Regions from separate parts of the Homo sapiens genome. Here region 1 is linked to region 2. Evidence: promoter capture Hi-C in human tissues and cell types (Jung and others, 2019). All regions are on one chromosome and are shown on one strand. The core of a region is centred on a gene start or on the middle of the fragment in contact, and the rest is flanking DNA. Distances in the headings are between cores, read along the strand shown.

The links. Contacts are between HindIII fragments. The study calls those that stand out against the background at their distance.
Region 1: a fragment that was not itself captured here is called in contact with the fragment with the promoter of MYO18A in region 2 in 1 of the 25 tissues and cell types used here (lymphoblastoid cells).

Annotation. Positions count from the first base shown.
Region 1 is chr17:29,471,105-29,477,404 of GRCh38, reverse strand. It overlaps TAOK1 (TAO kinase 1), which reads right to left. Exons shown (of 20, transcript NM_020791.4): 4 at 1,634-1,735. Among named protein-coding and RNA genes, the nearest start is that of MIR4523, 84 kb to the right of the region's middle. The HindIII fragment of the contact is 3,038 bases long and covers 622-3,659 here.
Region 2 is chr17:29,179,017-29,184,895 of GRCh38, reverse strand. It overlaps MYO18A (myosin XVIIIA), which reads left to right and starts at 4,498. Exons shown (of 42, transcript NM_078471.4): 1 at 4,498-4,583. RefSeq lists silencers at 4,419-4,639, 4,605-4,654, 4,775-4,824. The HindIII fragment of the contact is 14,487 bases long and covers 1-5,879 here.

The sequences.
Region 1 (6,300 bases), core at 891-3,390, 290 kb before region 2:
TAATGCCAACATATAATCACTTCTATAAGCTGTGTATTTCATATATAATTACTAATTAAAATTATAAAGAAATACACTATTTCTTAAAAATGTACTATTCCATTACTACAAACCTATAGTAACAATATTGATCATCGTTAGAAGACAGAAAACTGTGTTCTCTAGAATTATATGTATAGTCAGCCCTTCACATCTGTGGGTTCTAGATTTGTAGATTCAACCAACTATATATCAAAAATAATTGAAAAAATAAAAAAATTGGCTGGGCACGGTGGCTCATGCCTATAATCCCAGCACTTTGGGAGGCCGAGGCAGGCAGATCACCAGGTTAGGAGATTGAGACCATCCTGGCACACACGGTGAAACCCCATTTATACTAAAAATATAAAAAATTAGCTGGGTGTGGTGGTGGGTGCCTGCAGTCCCAGCTACTCGGGAAGCTTAGGCAGGAGAATGGCATGAACCTGGGAGGCGGAGCTTGCAGTGAGCCGTGATTGCGCCACTGAACTCCAGCCTGGGCGACAGAGTGAGACTCTGTCTCAAAATAAATAAATAAATAAAATTTTAAAAAATGACAATATAACAATAAAAATAAAACAAAAAGCCAATATAACGTAACAACTATTTACATGGCATTCACATTGTGGTATTATAACTAATCTACAGATGATTGAAAAAATAATAGGTGGATGTGCCCAGGTTATGTGCAGATACTCCATTTTATAGAAGGGATTTGGTATCCTGGGGGTGGGTGTCCTGGAACCAAATCCCCCACAGATACTGAGGAAAAACTATACAAAGCTTAGGTTACAACTGTTTCTTTGAAAGCAAACACAGAGCACCTCCTATGTGCCAGGTATTTTTTATATAGTAACCAATTTAATCCTCAGAATAATCTTATGAGGTAGGTCCTATTAGTATCCTTGTTTTATGGTTGGAGAACCCTGAGAGGCAGAGAGGTTACCCATCTAATGTTACTTTTTCTTTAATCATAGCCTCAATTTTACAAGTCACCACTACCACTACCAAAACAAACTGGATAAAAATGCACCAAACACTACAAATCTAAATCTACAGTACGTATACTAAAATGATACTTAGCTGTGACTTATTAATTATTCAAAATAAGGGGCCATTCCTGGTAACAAAAGGGCAAAATAAATTTCTACTTCTTATAATAAAGTGCAACAATTCTCTATCTTTAGTGTTATTCGACCAAGGAATCGTGATCAGCTCAAATTTCACCAGGATTCACCCAAATTTCATCATGATCTTTCTGGTTAAATGCATTACAGTACATTTATGTCAAGAAAACATATGCTAACTTTCAACCTCAAGTAACATGATTGTTTTCACAATGTTTGAATGGTACTACTAAAACTGTCATAGGACATTTTATCATACATACAAAGGTCAACAGAATTCTGAAAAATCTCTGCAGTGAGACTTGCAAAAGTTCTATTATCTCTTACTGCCTACAAGTTCTAGGAAATATTGCTTGTTTTCTTTCAGTACGAACTAACATTTCAGGTGTTTTTGCATGCATTTACACAACCAGTATGAGATATTCTGAATTAATTCATTATAAACCAAAATCAGCTAAAACTGCAACAAGGGGAGAACAAATACCAACCCATGCTGTGTGTTCACGTAAATAACAGCCTTTGTATTCTATACTGTTGGGATGTTTTATTCTTTGTAGAAACTTGACTTCCTTAATAATATCCTGCCATTTCTGTGGGGAGAAAAAAGGTAAAGAATTATGAACAGGACTTTTCCTCAGAAAGTTATATAAGAATAAAAGTAATTACTAAATTTAGAAGAGTTAACAAGAACATGCAACTTTGCTTGGTTTTACTTATTTATTGGGAGGGTCTTGCTCTTTCACCCAGGCTGGAGTGCAGTGGCACAATCTCAGCTAACTGCAACCTCCATCTTGTGGGCTCAAGTGATCCTCCCACCTCAGCCTCCCAAGTATTTGGGTCTACAGGCGCACACCACCATGCTCATCTAATTTTTCTATTTTTTGTACAGATGGGGTTTCACTGCATTGCTCAGACTGGTCTCAAACTCCTGACCTCAAGTGATTCACTTGTCTTGGCCTCCCAAAATATGGTCATTTTTAGATAAAATGTCAAAATTAAAAAGTTTAAATAAATTATATTCAGCCAGGTACAGTGGCTCACGCCTGTAATCCCAGCACTTTGGGAGGCTGAAGCAGGTGGATCACAAGGTCAGGAGATTGAGACCATCCTGGCCAACATGGTGAAACCGTGTCTCTACTAAAAATACAAAAATTAGCTGGGCGTGGTGGTGTGCACCTATAGTCCCAGGTACTCGGGAGGCTGAGGCAGGAGAATAGCTTGAACACGGGAGGTGGAGGTTGCAGTGAGCCGAGATCGAGCCACACTGCACTCCAGCCTGGTGACAGAGCGAAACTCGGTCTCAAAAATAAAACAAATAAATAAATAAATAACATTCATATACAGGCATATCTCAATTTACAGCACTTTGCTTTATTGTACTTCACAGATGTTACTTTTTTTTTTTTAAAACAAATTGAAGGTTTGTAGCAATCCTGTGTCAAAGCAAGTCTACCAGCACCATTTTTCCAATAGCATGGGCTCACTTGATGTCTTTGTGTCACCTTTTGGTAACTCTCACAATATTTGAAACTTTTTCATCATTATTATTATATCTGTTATGGTGATCTGTGATCAGTAATTGTTTACATTACTATTGTAATTGTTTTGGGGAGCCATGAACTGTGCCCATATAAGATGGTGAATTTAATCAATAAACATGTATTCTCACAGTTCCACCAGCCAGCCATTCCCCAGTCTGTCTCCCTTTCCTTGGGCCTCCCTATTCTCTGAGACACAATAATGTTGAAATTAGGCCATCAATAACCCCACAGTGACCCCTAAGTGTTCAAGTGAACGGAATACTCACACATCTGTCACTTCAATTCAAAACTTACAAGTGATTAAGCTTAGTGAGAAAGGCATGTCAAAAGCTGAGACAGGCTTTGAAGCTAGGCCTTTTGCACCAAATAGCCAAGTTGTAAATGCAAAGAAAAAGTTATTGAAGAAAATTTAAAGTGCTACTCCAGTGAATATATGAATGATAAGAAGGTAAAACAAGTTTATTGTTGATGTGAAGAAAGCTTTAATGGTCTGGATAGAAAATCAAATCAGCGACAACATTCCCGTAAAACAAAGTCTAATCTAGAGGATGGCCCTAACTCTCTTTAACTCTACAAAGGCTGAGAGAGGTGAGAAAGCTGAAGAAGAAAAGTTGGAAGCTAGTAGAGGTTGCTTCATCAGGTTTAAGGAAAGAAATTATCTCCGTAAAATAAAAATGCAAGGTAGGCCGGCACGGTAGCTCACTCCTATAATCAATCCCAGCATTTTGGGAGACCAAGGCGGACAGATCACTTGAGGTCAGGAGTTCAAGACCAGCCTGGCCAACAAGGTGAAACCCCATCTCCACTAAACACACAAAAATTAGCCAGGTGTGGTGATGCGTGCCTGTAGTCCTAGCTACTAGGGAGGAAACGCAGAGGAAGGAGAATCGTTTGAACCCAGGAGGCGGAGGCTGCAGTGAGCCAAGATAGTGCCACTGCACTCTAGCCTGGGCAACAGAGAGAGACTCTGTCTCAAAAAAAAAAGAAAAAGAAAGAAAGAAAAGTGCAAGGTGAAGCAGCAAGTACTGATGTAGAGGCTACATGCAAGTTATCCAGAAGATCTAGCCAATGTGTCATTGATGAAGGTGGCTACATTACGCAACAGATTTTTTTTTTTTTTTTTTGAGAGTTTCACTCTGCCATCCACACTGGAGTGCAGTGGCATGATCTTGGCTCACTACAACTTCTGCCTCCTGGGTTCAAGCATTCCTCCTGCCACCACATCTGGGTAATTTTTCTATTTTCAGCAGAGACGGGGTTTCACCATGTTGGCCAAGCTGGTCTCGAACTCCTGGCCTCAAGTGATCCACCTACCTTGGCCTCCCAAAGTGCTGAGATTACAGGTGTGAGCCACCATGCCCAGTCAACAGATCTTCAGTGTAGATGAAATAGCCTTATATTGGAAGAAGATACCATCTAGGACTTTCATGGCTACAGAGCAACTATGAAATGCCTGGTTTCAAAGCTTCAAAGGACAGGCTGACTCTCTTGTTAGGGGCTAATGCAGCTTGTGATTTTAAGTTGAAGTCAATGCACATTTACCATTCCAAAACTCCTACTCTGCCTGTGCTTGTTCAATGAAACAACAAAGCCTGGATGACAGTACATCCATTTAAGCATGGTTTAGTGAATATTTTAAGGCCACGGTTGAGATTTACTGCTCAGAAAGATTCCTTTCAAAATATTACTGGTCTTTGCCCGTGTACCTAGCCACCCAAGAACTCTGATAGAGATATAAAAGGAGATTTATGTTGTTTTTATTCCTGCTAATACACCATCCATTCTGCAGCCCATGGATCAAGGAATAATTTTGAGTTCCAAGCCTTATTATTTAAGAAAGGCCAGCAGGGCACAGTGGCTCACGCCTGTAATCCCAGCACTTTGGGAGGCCGAGGCGGGCGGATCACCTGAGGTCGGGAGTTCAGGACTAGCCTGACCGACATGGAGAAACCCTGTCTCTACTAAAAAAATACAAAATGAGCCGGGCGTGGTGGTGCATGACTGTAATCCCAGCTACTTGGGAGGCTGAGGCAGGAGAATCACTTGAACCCAGCGGGGCGGAGGTTGCGGTGAGCCGAGATAGTGCCATTGCACCCCAGCCTGGGCAACAAGAGCGAAACTCCATCTCAAAAAAAAAAAAAAAAAGAAAGAAAGAAAGGCTATAGCAGCTGGGCATGGTGGTTCACGCCTGTAATCCCAACACTTTGGGAGGCCGAGGCAGGTGGATCACCTGAGGTCAGGAGTTCGAGACCAGCCTGGCCAACATGGCAAAACCCTGTCTCTACTAATAATACAAAAATCAGCCAGGCATGGGGATGCAGGCCTATAATCTCAGTTACTCGAGAGGCTGAGGCAGGAGAATCGCTTGAACCCGGGAGGCAGAGGTTGCAGTGAGCCGAGATCATGCCATTGCACTCCAGCCTGGGCGACAAGAATGAACTCCATCTCAAAAAAAAAAAAAACACACAACGGCTATAGCTGCCATAGACAGCAATTTGTCTGATGGATATGGGCAAAGTAAATTGAGAATCTTCTGGAAATAATTCATTCTAGATGCCATTAAGAACGTTTCCGACTCATGGGAGGGCAAATTAGCAACATTATCAGGAGTTTGCAATAAGTGGATTCCAACCCTCATGGATGACTTTGGGGGGTTCAATATTTCAGTGGAGGAAATAATTGCAGATGTGGTGGAAACAGCAGGAAAACTGGAATTACACATGGAGCCTGAAGATGTGACTACACTGCTGCAATTTCATGATAAAACTTGAGTGGATGAGAAACTATTTGTAATAGATGGGCAAAGAAAGTAATTTCTGAATATTACATAAACTTAGTTGATAAAGCAGTAACAGAGTTACAGAGGATGGACTCCAATTTTGAAAGTTTTATCATGGGTAAAATGCTGTCAAACATCATTGCATTCTACAGAGAAATCTTTTGTGAAAGAGAAAACTGATGGGCAAACTTCACTGTTGTCAGATTTTAAGAAATTGCCACAGCCACCTTAACCTTCAGCAACCACTACCCTGATCAGTCAGAAGCCATCAACATGGAAGCAAGATTCTCAACCAGCAAAAATAGTATGACATGCTGAAGGCTCAAATTATCATTAACTTTTTTTTAGAAATAAAATATTTTAAGCTGGGCGCGGTGGCTCACGCCTGTAATTCCAGCACTTTGGGAGGCCGAGGTGGGGGGATCACGAGGTCAAGAGATCGAGACCATCCTGGCCAAGATGATGAAACCCCGTCTCTACTAAAAATACAAAAAATTAGCCAGGCGTGGTAGCGGGCACCTGTAGTCCCAGCTACTCGGGAGGCAAGCAGGAGAATCACTTGAACCCGGGAGGCGAAGGTCGCAGTGAACCAAGATTGCGCCACTGCACTCCAGCCTGGCGACAGAGTGAGACTTCATCTCAAAAAAAAAAAAAAAAAAAAAAGAAAGAAAATATTTTAAAATTAAGGTACGTACACTGTCTTTTTTAGACAAAATGTTATTGCACACTTAATGGACTACGGTACTACAGTATAGCATGGACATATATATATATATATTTTTTAGATGAAGTCTTGTGTTGTTGTCCAGGCTGGAGTGCAGTGGCACAATCTTGA
Region 2 (5,879 bases), core at 3,249-5,748:
TATGAGTTAGGAAAGATAACCAAGCTAACAGCTATAGAATGCTTACCATGTACTGGGCATTGTTCTTTTTATATATTAAATCATGTAATTTTTAAAAATTAATAAATACAAGGCCGGGCAAAATGGCTCACGCCTGTAATTCCAGCACTTTGGGAGGCCAAGGTGGGTGGATTACCTGAGGCCAGGAGTTTGAGACCAGCCTGGCCAACATGATGAAACCCCATCTCTACTAAAAATACAAAAATTAGCCTGGTGTGGCGGCACATGCCTGCAATCCCAGCTACTTGGGAGGCTGAGGCAGGAGAATCACTTGAACCTGGGAGGCAGAGGTTCCAGTGAGCTGAGATCACAGCACTGCACTCCAGCCTGGGTGGCAGACTGAGATCCTGTCTCAAAATAATAATAATAAATATTATTTTAAAAATCAGTTTAAGTTCACAGCCAAATTGAGCATAAAGTACAGAGATTTCCCATATGCCCCCTGCCCCGACACATGCACAGCCTTCCCCACGATCACACTCTTCACCAGAGTTGTACATTTGTTACAATCGATGAACCTACATTGACACATCAGTATCCCCCAAAGTCCATGGTTTACATTAGGATTCACTCTTGGTGTTGTACATTTTGTGGGTTTTGACAAACACATAATGACATGTATTCAACAGTGCGGTATCACACAGAAGAGTTTCACTGCCCTAAAAATCCTCTGTGCTTTGCATTTTCATCCCTCCCTCAACCTTAATCCATGGCACCACTAACCTTTTTATTGTCTCCATAGTTTTGCCTTTTGCAGAATGCCATATAGTTGGAATCATACAACATGTAGCCTTTTCAGATCAGCTTCTTTCACTTATTAATATACATTTAAGTTTCCTCCATGTCTTTTCATGGCTTGATAGCTCATTTCTTTTTTAGTGCCACATAATATGCCATTGTCTAGATATACCATAGGTTATTTGTCCATTTACCTACTGAAGTTCATCTTGGTTGCTTCCAAGTTTTGGCAATTATGAATAAAGTTGCTACAAACATCATGTGCAGGATTTTGTGTGGACATAAGTTTTCAATTCATTTGGATAAATACCAAGGAGTGGGATTGTTGGATTGTATGGTAAGAATATGTTTCATTTTCTAAGAAACCACCAAACTGTCTTTCAAAGTGGCTATACCATTTTGCTACCAGCAGAGAATGGGAGTTCCTGTTGCTCTACATTCTTGCTAGCATTTGGAGTTGTTGGCATTTCGGATTTTGGCCAAAATCCAAATTTAGGTAAATAAAGTAGTTTTACCTCATGGTCATCTTAATTTGCTATTCTCTTTTATTTTTTATTTATTATTATTTTTTGAGACGGAGTCTTGCTCTGTCACCCAGGCTGGAGTGCAGTGGTGCAATCTCGGCTCACTGCACCCTCTGCCTCCTGGGTTCAAGTGAATCTCCTGCCTCAGCCTCCTGAGTAGCTGGGACTACAGGTGCATGCCACCACACCAGGCTAATTTTTGTTCTTTTAGTAGAGACAGGGTTTCACCATGTAGGCCAGGATGGTCTGGATCTCTTGACCTCCTGATCCACCTGCCTCGGCCTCCCAAAGTGCTGGGATTACAGGCGTGAGCCACTGCACCTGGCTTTAATTTGCTATTCTCTAGTGACATACAATGTTGAGTATCTTTTCTTTTGCTTACTACTATCTGTATATCTTCTTTGGTAAGGTGTCTGATCAGGTTTTTTACCCATTTCTAAATTGGGTGGTTTTCTTATTGTTGAGTTTTTAAAACTCTTTGCATATTTTGGATAACAGTCCTTTATCAGATGTCTTTTGCATATTTTTAGTAGAGACGGGGTTTCACCATGTTAGCCAGGATGGTCTCGAGCTCCTGATCTCATGACACACCTGCCTCAGCCTCCCAAAGTGCTGGGATTACAGGCGTGAGCCACCGCACCTGGCTTTAATTTGCTATTCTCTAATGATATACAGTGTTGAATATCTTTTCTTTTGCTTACTGCTATCTGTATATCTTCTTTGGTAAGGTGTCTGATCAGGTTTTTTGCCCATTTCTAAATTGGGTGGTTCATTTTCTTATTGTTGAGTTTTTAAAACTCTGCGTATTTTGGATAACAATCCTTTATCAGATGTCTTTTGCATATATTTTATCCCAGTTGTGGCTTGTCTTCTCATTCTCTTGACAGTCTTTTGCAGAGCAGACATTTTTAATTTTAATGAAGCCCAGCTTATCAGCTCTTTCTTTTATGGTGCCTTTGGTGTTGTATCTAAAGAGTCATTGTGATACTCAAGGTCATCTAGGTTTTCTCCTATGTTATCCTCTAGGAGACAGTTTTATAGTTTTGTGTTTTACATTTAGGTATATAATCTATTCTGAGTTAATTTTTGTGAAGGGTATAAAGTCTGTGTCTAGACCCCCCCCTTTTTTTTTTTTTGCATGTGGATGTCCAGTTTGTTGAAAAGCCCCATGTGTTGAAAAGACTAAGCTTATATAATTTTCAAAACAAATTTTGAGGGAGGGAGTCACTGTTATTATCCCAATTTTTTGGATGAGCAAAGTGAAGCACAGAGAGGTGATTTATAAAAAATCACCCAGAGTAACACAGCTAGTACTTTACAGAACTGAGATTTTGAATCCAGGCAATCCAGCTCCAGAGTCCATGCACTCAACCCCTATCTATAATAATAATGTCTCCCTCATAGGTTCATTGTGAGGAGTAGAGATAGTGTCTAGTATATAATAGGTACTCAGGAAACACTAATGATAGTCGTTGTCCTACTTAGCCTGCAAGGTTCCGCTCAAATGTCATGTTTTTGGGGTTTTTTTTTTTTCTTTTTTGGAGACAGAGTCTTGCTCTGTCGCCCAGGCTGAAGTACAGTGGTGTAATCTCCGCTCACTGCAACCTCTGCTCCCCAGGTTCAAGAGATTCTCCTGCCTCAGCCTCCCAAGTAGCTGGGATTATAGACATGCACTACCACGCCTGGTTAATTTTTTGTATTTGTAGTAGTGATGGGGTTTCGCCATGTTGGCCAGGCTGGTCTTGAACGCTGGCCTCAAGTGATCTGCCCACCTCAGCCTCCCAAAGTGCTGGGATTACAGGCATAAGCCACCATGCCTGGCCTCAAATGTCATGTTTTTGAAGCTGCTCTTCTCACTCCTCAAGCCAAATAAGCCTCCCATCATAGCACCTATCTCATCATCCAAGTAATGCCAGCATGGTGAACCCTACTACTGTCACAGCTCAGGTCTACCTGTTCCCCATGTGATTTCCCTGGAGATATGCCATGTCTGATCTCCTTCTGTGTCACCCCAAGTGCCTGGGGCTGCACTTGGCACTTAGCAGGCAGTTTGTTAAATTGAATTTGAGTTGCATGTTATTCCAAAATGTGTATCCCGCCTGGGTCTATTCCTCAGGAACTCCCTAACTCTTACTCAACTCTCTGCTTTCTGAGCCTCCTTGCTCCAGCCTTCCCTGGTCTGTCAGGTTGGGCTGCCCTTGCCTGGAGAAGTTCCTGTTTGGGCTGTCTAGGGAGGTAGCAGCATTTGTCTGCTACACCCTTCTTCCTGCACCACCCCACTCAGTTTCTTCCACATTCTGGCACACCCCACTCCAGCATGGACACTGCCCAGGGAAGTGTCCCCATTTCTTTCTTTCTCCAAACTCTAGACATAGCACCTATCTTGGAGGCCTGGTATCTGGATGTCCCTTGGCCTCTCCCAGGAAGTATAAACTGTCTTCTTGGTGGGTACAGCAGCTCACTTGATATTTACAGCACACAGTGGACCCAGGGACAGACTGCATTCCAAAGAGCTTCTGAAAGTGTTAATCTTGGCATTGGTGAACTCCTTTAGGGAGTGAGTGGCACTTACAGCCATGGCTCCCGGGCCCTGGTACGCCTCTTGATCCACTCCATTTTGAGGCAGGGCTGTATCAGACCAAGCTATTGGGAGTCTGTTTTTACCTTGGGGAGTGCATTCTGGCAGTGCCATCTCGGACATGGCAGGCAGTACCTGGTCTGGACTGAGCCTGGGGCACCATCCAGCAGGGCCCTGTGTGTGCCTCTGCAGAGCCACCTTGGGAGGAGGCGGCCAGTAAGACTTAATTGCTTCCTTTAGACAGCACTACCTTGAACACAGCCTGCAGAGTTCGGTGCCTGCCTTGGACAGCCCCTCTTCTATACGTTCATCATGACCCTGGTGCCTGTCCTAGGCAGTGCCACTCAGCCCCTTTCGGACCCTTTTCGGACAGCCTCCAGTGCCCAGTGCAGACAGAAACTCCAGGCAGGGCCTCTCTCAGACACAGCGAGAGGGGCTTCGGAGTCCACAGCGGACGGAGGCTGCCAGGGCAGCGCCCGGCCCGCCTGGCCCACGTCTGGCGGCGCGCACTGGCGCTGCCAGGCAGGCCGGGCGTTTATCCCCACAGCCGCCAGCAGGGAGCTCCCTTTCGGCTCGGCCTGCGCGGTCGCTGGGGGCGGCGCTGAGCTGCGCCGCGCTGCGCTCTGCTCCATCCCTGACCGGGCCGAGGCTGCTGGATGCCGCGTCTCCGCTTCTGCTGCCTGCCGGGCGGGCTCCGGTGGCCGGTGAGTGCCGGTCGGCGGCGGCGGCCGCTCGGTGGCGGGCCCGGCTTGGTGGGGCGGCGGGGCGGGCTCCGGCCGGGAGGGAGGGCGGGCGGGCGGCGGGGCCCGCCGGCTCCTCCTCCTCCTCCCCCGTCCCCTGGAAGCAGCGGCCCGGACTCCCGGCTCCCGTCCCTGGCGGCGCCGTGGAGCTCGACGCCCGGGGGTGGGGGCCGATCGGGAGCGGCGGGGAAGGGGGAACCACCGGCCCTTCCAGCCAACCTGGGGGGCGCAGGGAGGCAGGACAGGGTGGCCTTCAGTGTGGGGGGATTTGGGGCTTGGAGGCGCCCAGGTGGCCCGGAGCTGCGGGGTGGGGGCTGCAGCCTCGAGGGTGGGGGGACTTCTCCTGCCCCCGTCCAGGCCCCACGATGGAGCGAGCGAGAGAGCGGGGCGCTGAGGAAGGCAGCGGGGAAGGGGAGCACCTCTACCGACCCTTTTATCCCTCCCAGCGGCCTTCACTCTTTCACTGCCGGGCAGACTGCGGGCTCCTCTCAAAGGAGCAGCTGCTAGACAGCTGGCAAAACAATGGAGACCCCGCTTCCCTGGGCCCCCTCCTCTTGGGACAGAAGATGAGAGGGTGAATGGTGGCAGGCTTTGGGGATTAGGGAGTGCAGGCTGTGCCCTGAGACTGAATGCTCACCTCACCTTTCCCTGCAGAGGGGTGGGGTGCGTGTGGGAAGGTCGGACAAGCTGCCCCAGGCCTCTGGAGAGACCGCCCCGACGCCCCGCCCTGCTAACCTGTCATGCCAGTTGTTTCGCCAATGGGAAGGGGAGGTGGTAGGGGTGGCTGCCCCCTCACCCTGCCCCTTGTTAGTGGGGGTGCGCTCCTTGGTCCCAAACCCGGCCAGGAGTGTGGGTCATGTTCCTGGGTGCGATAAGGCCCGCAGGGACAGGCCAGGCATTGGGGCTTTGTTTTGGGGGTGGAGATGGGGGAGTTGCCCTACTGCAAGGCACATGTGTCTTGCTGATTAGTTGGAAAGGTTGCGGCCAGAATGAGCTAGAGGTGGGGGGTGGGGGAGATGGGGAGGAAGACAGCCAGTTTGTTTTTGAGCGGGTATTCATTTTGCCTGACCACTTTGCCAATGGGGCATGTGTTTGGCGCTGGCCTCATAGTTTGTATTTGTGTGGGGAGGGCTGGGGGAATGCTTCCTGAGAGGGACTGTCCTGGCTAGGGCTTTCATTCCCTCAGATGGCCACCCCGAATTAAAGAATTGGATTCCCTCCCTGCTTCACCCTGCCAATGACTTGGGCTAGTTAGTGTGG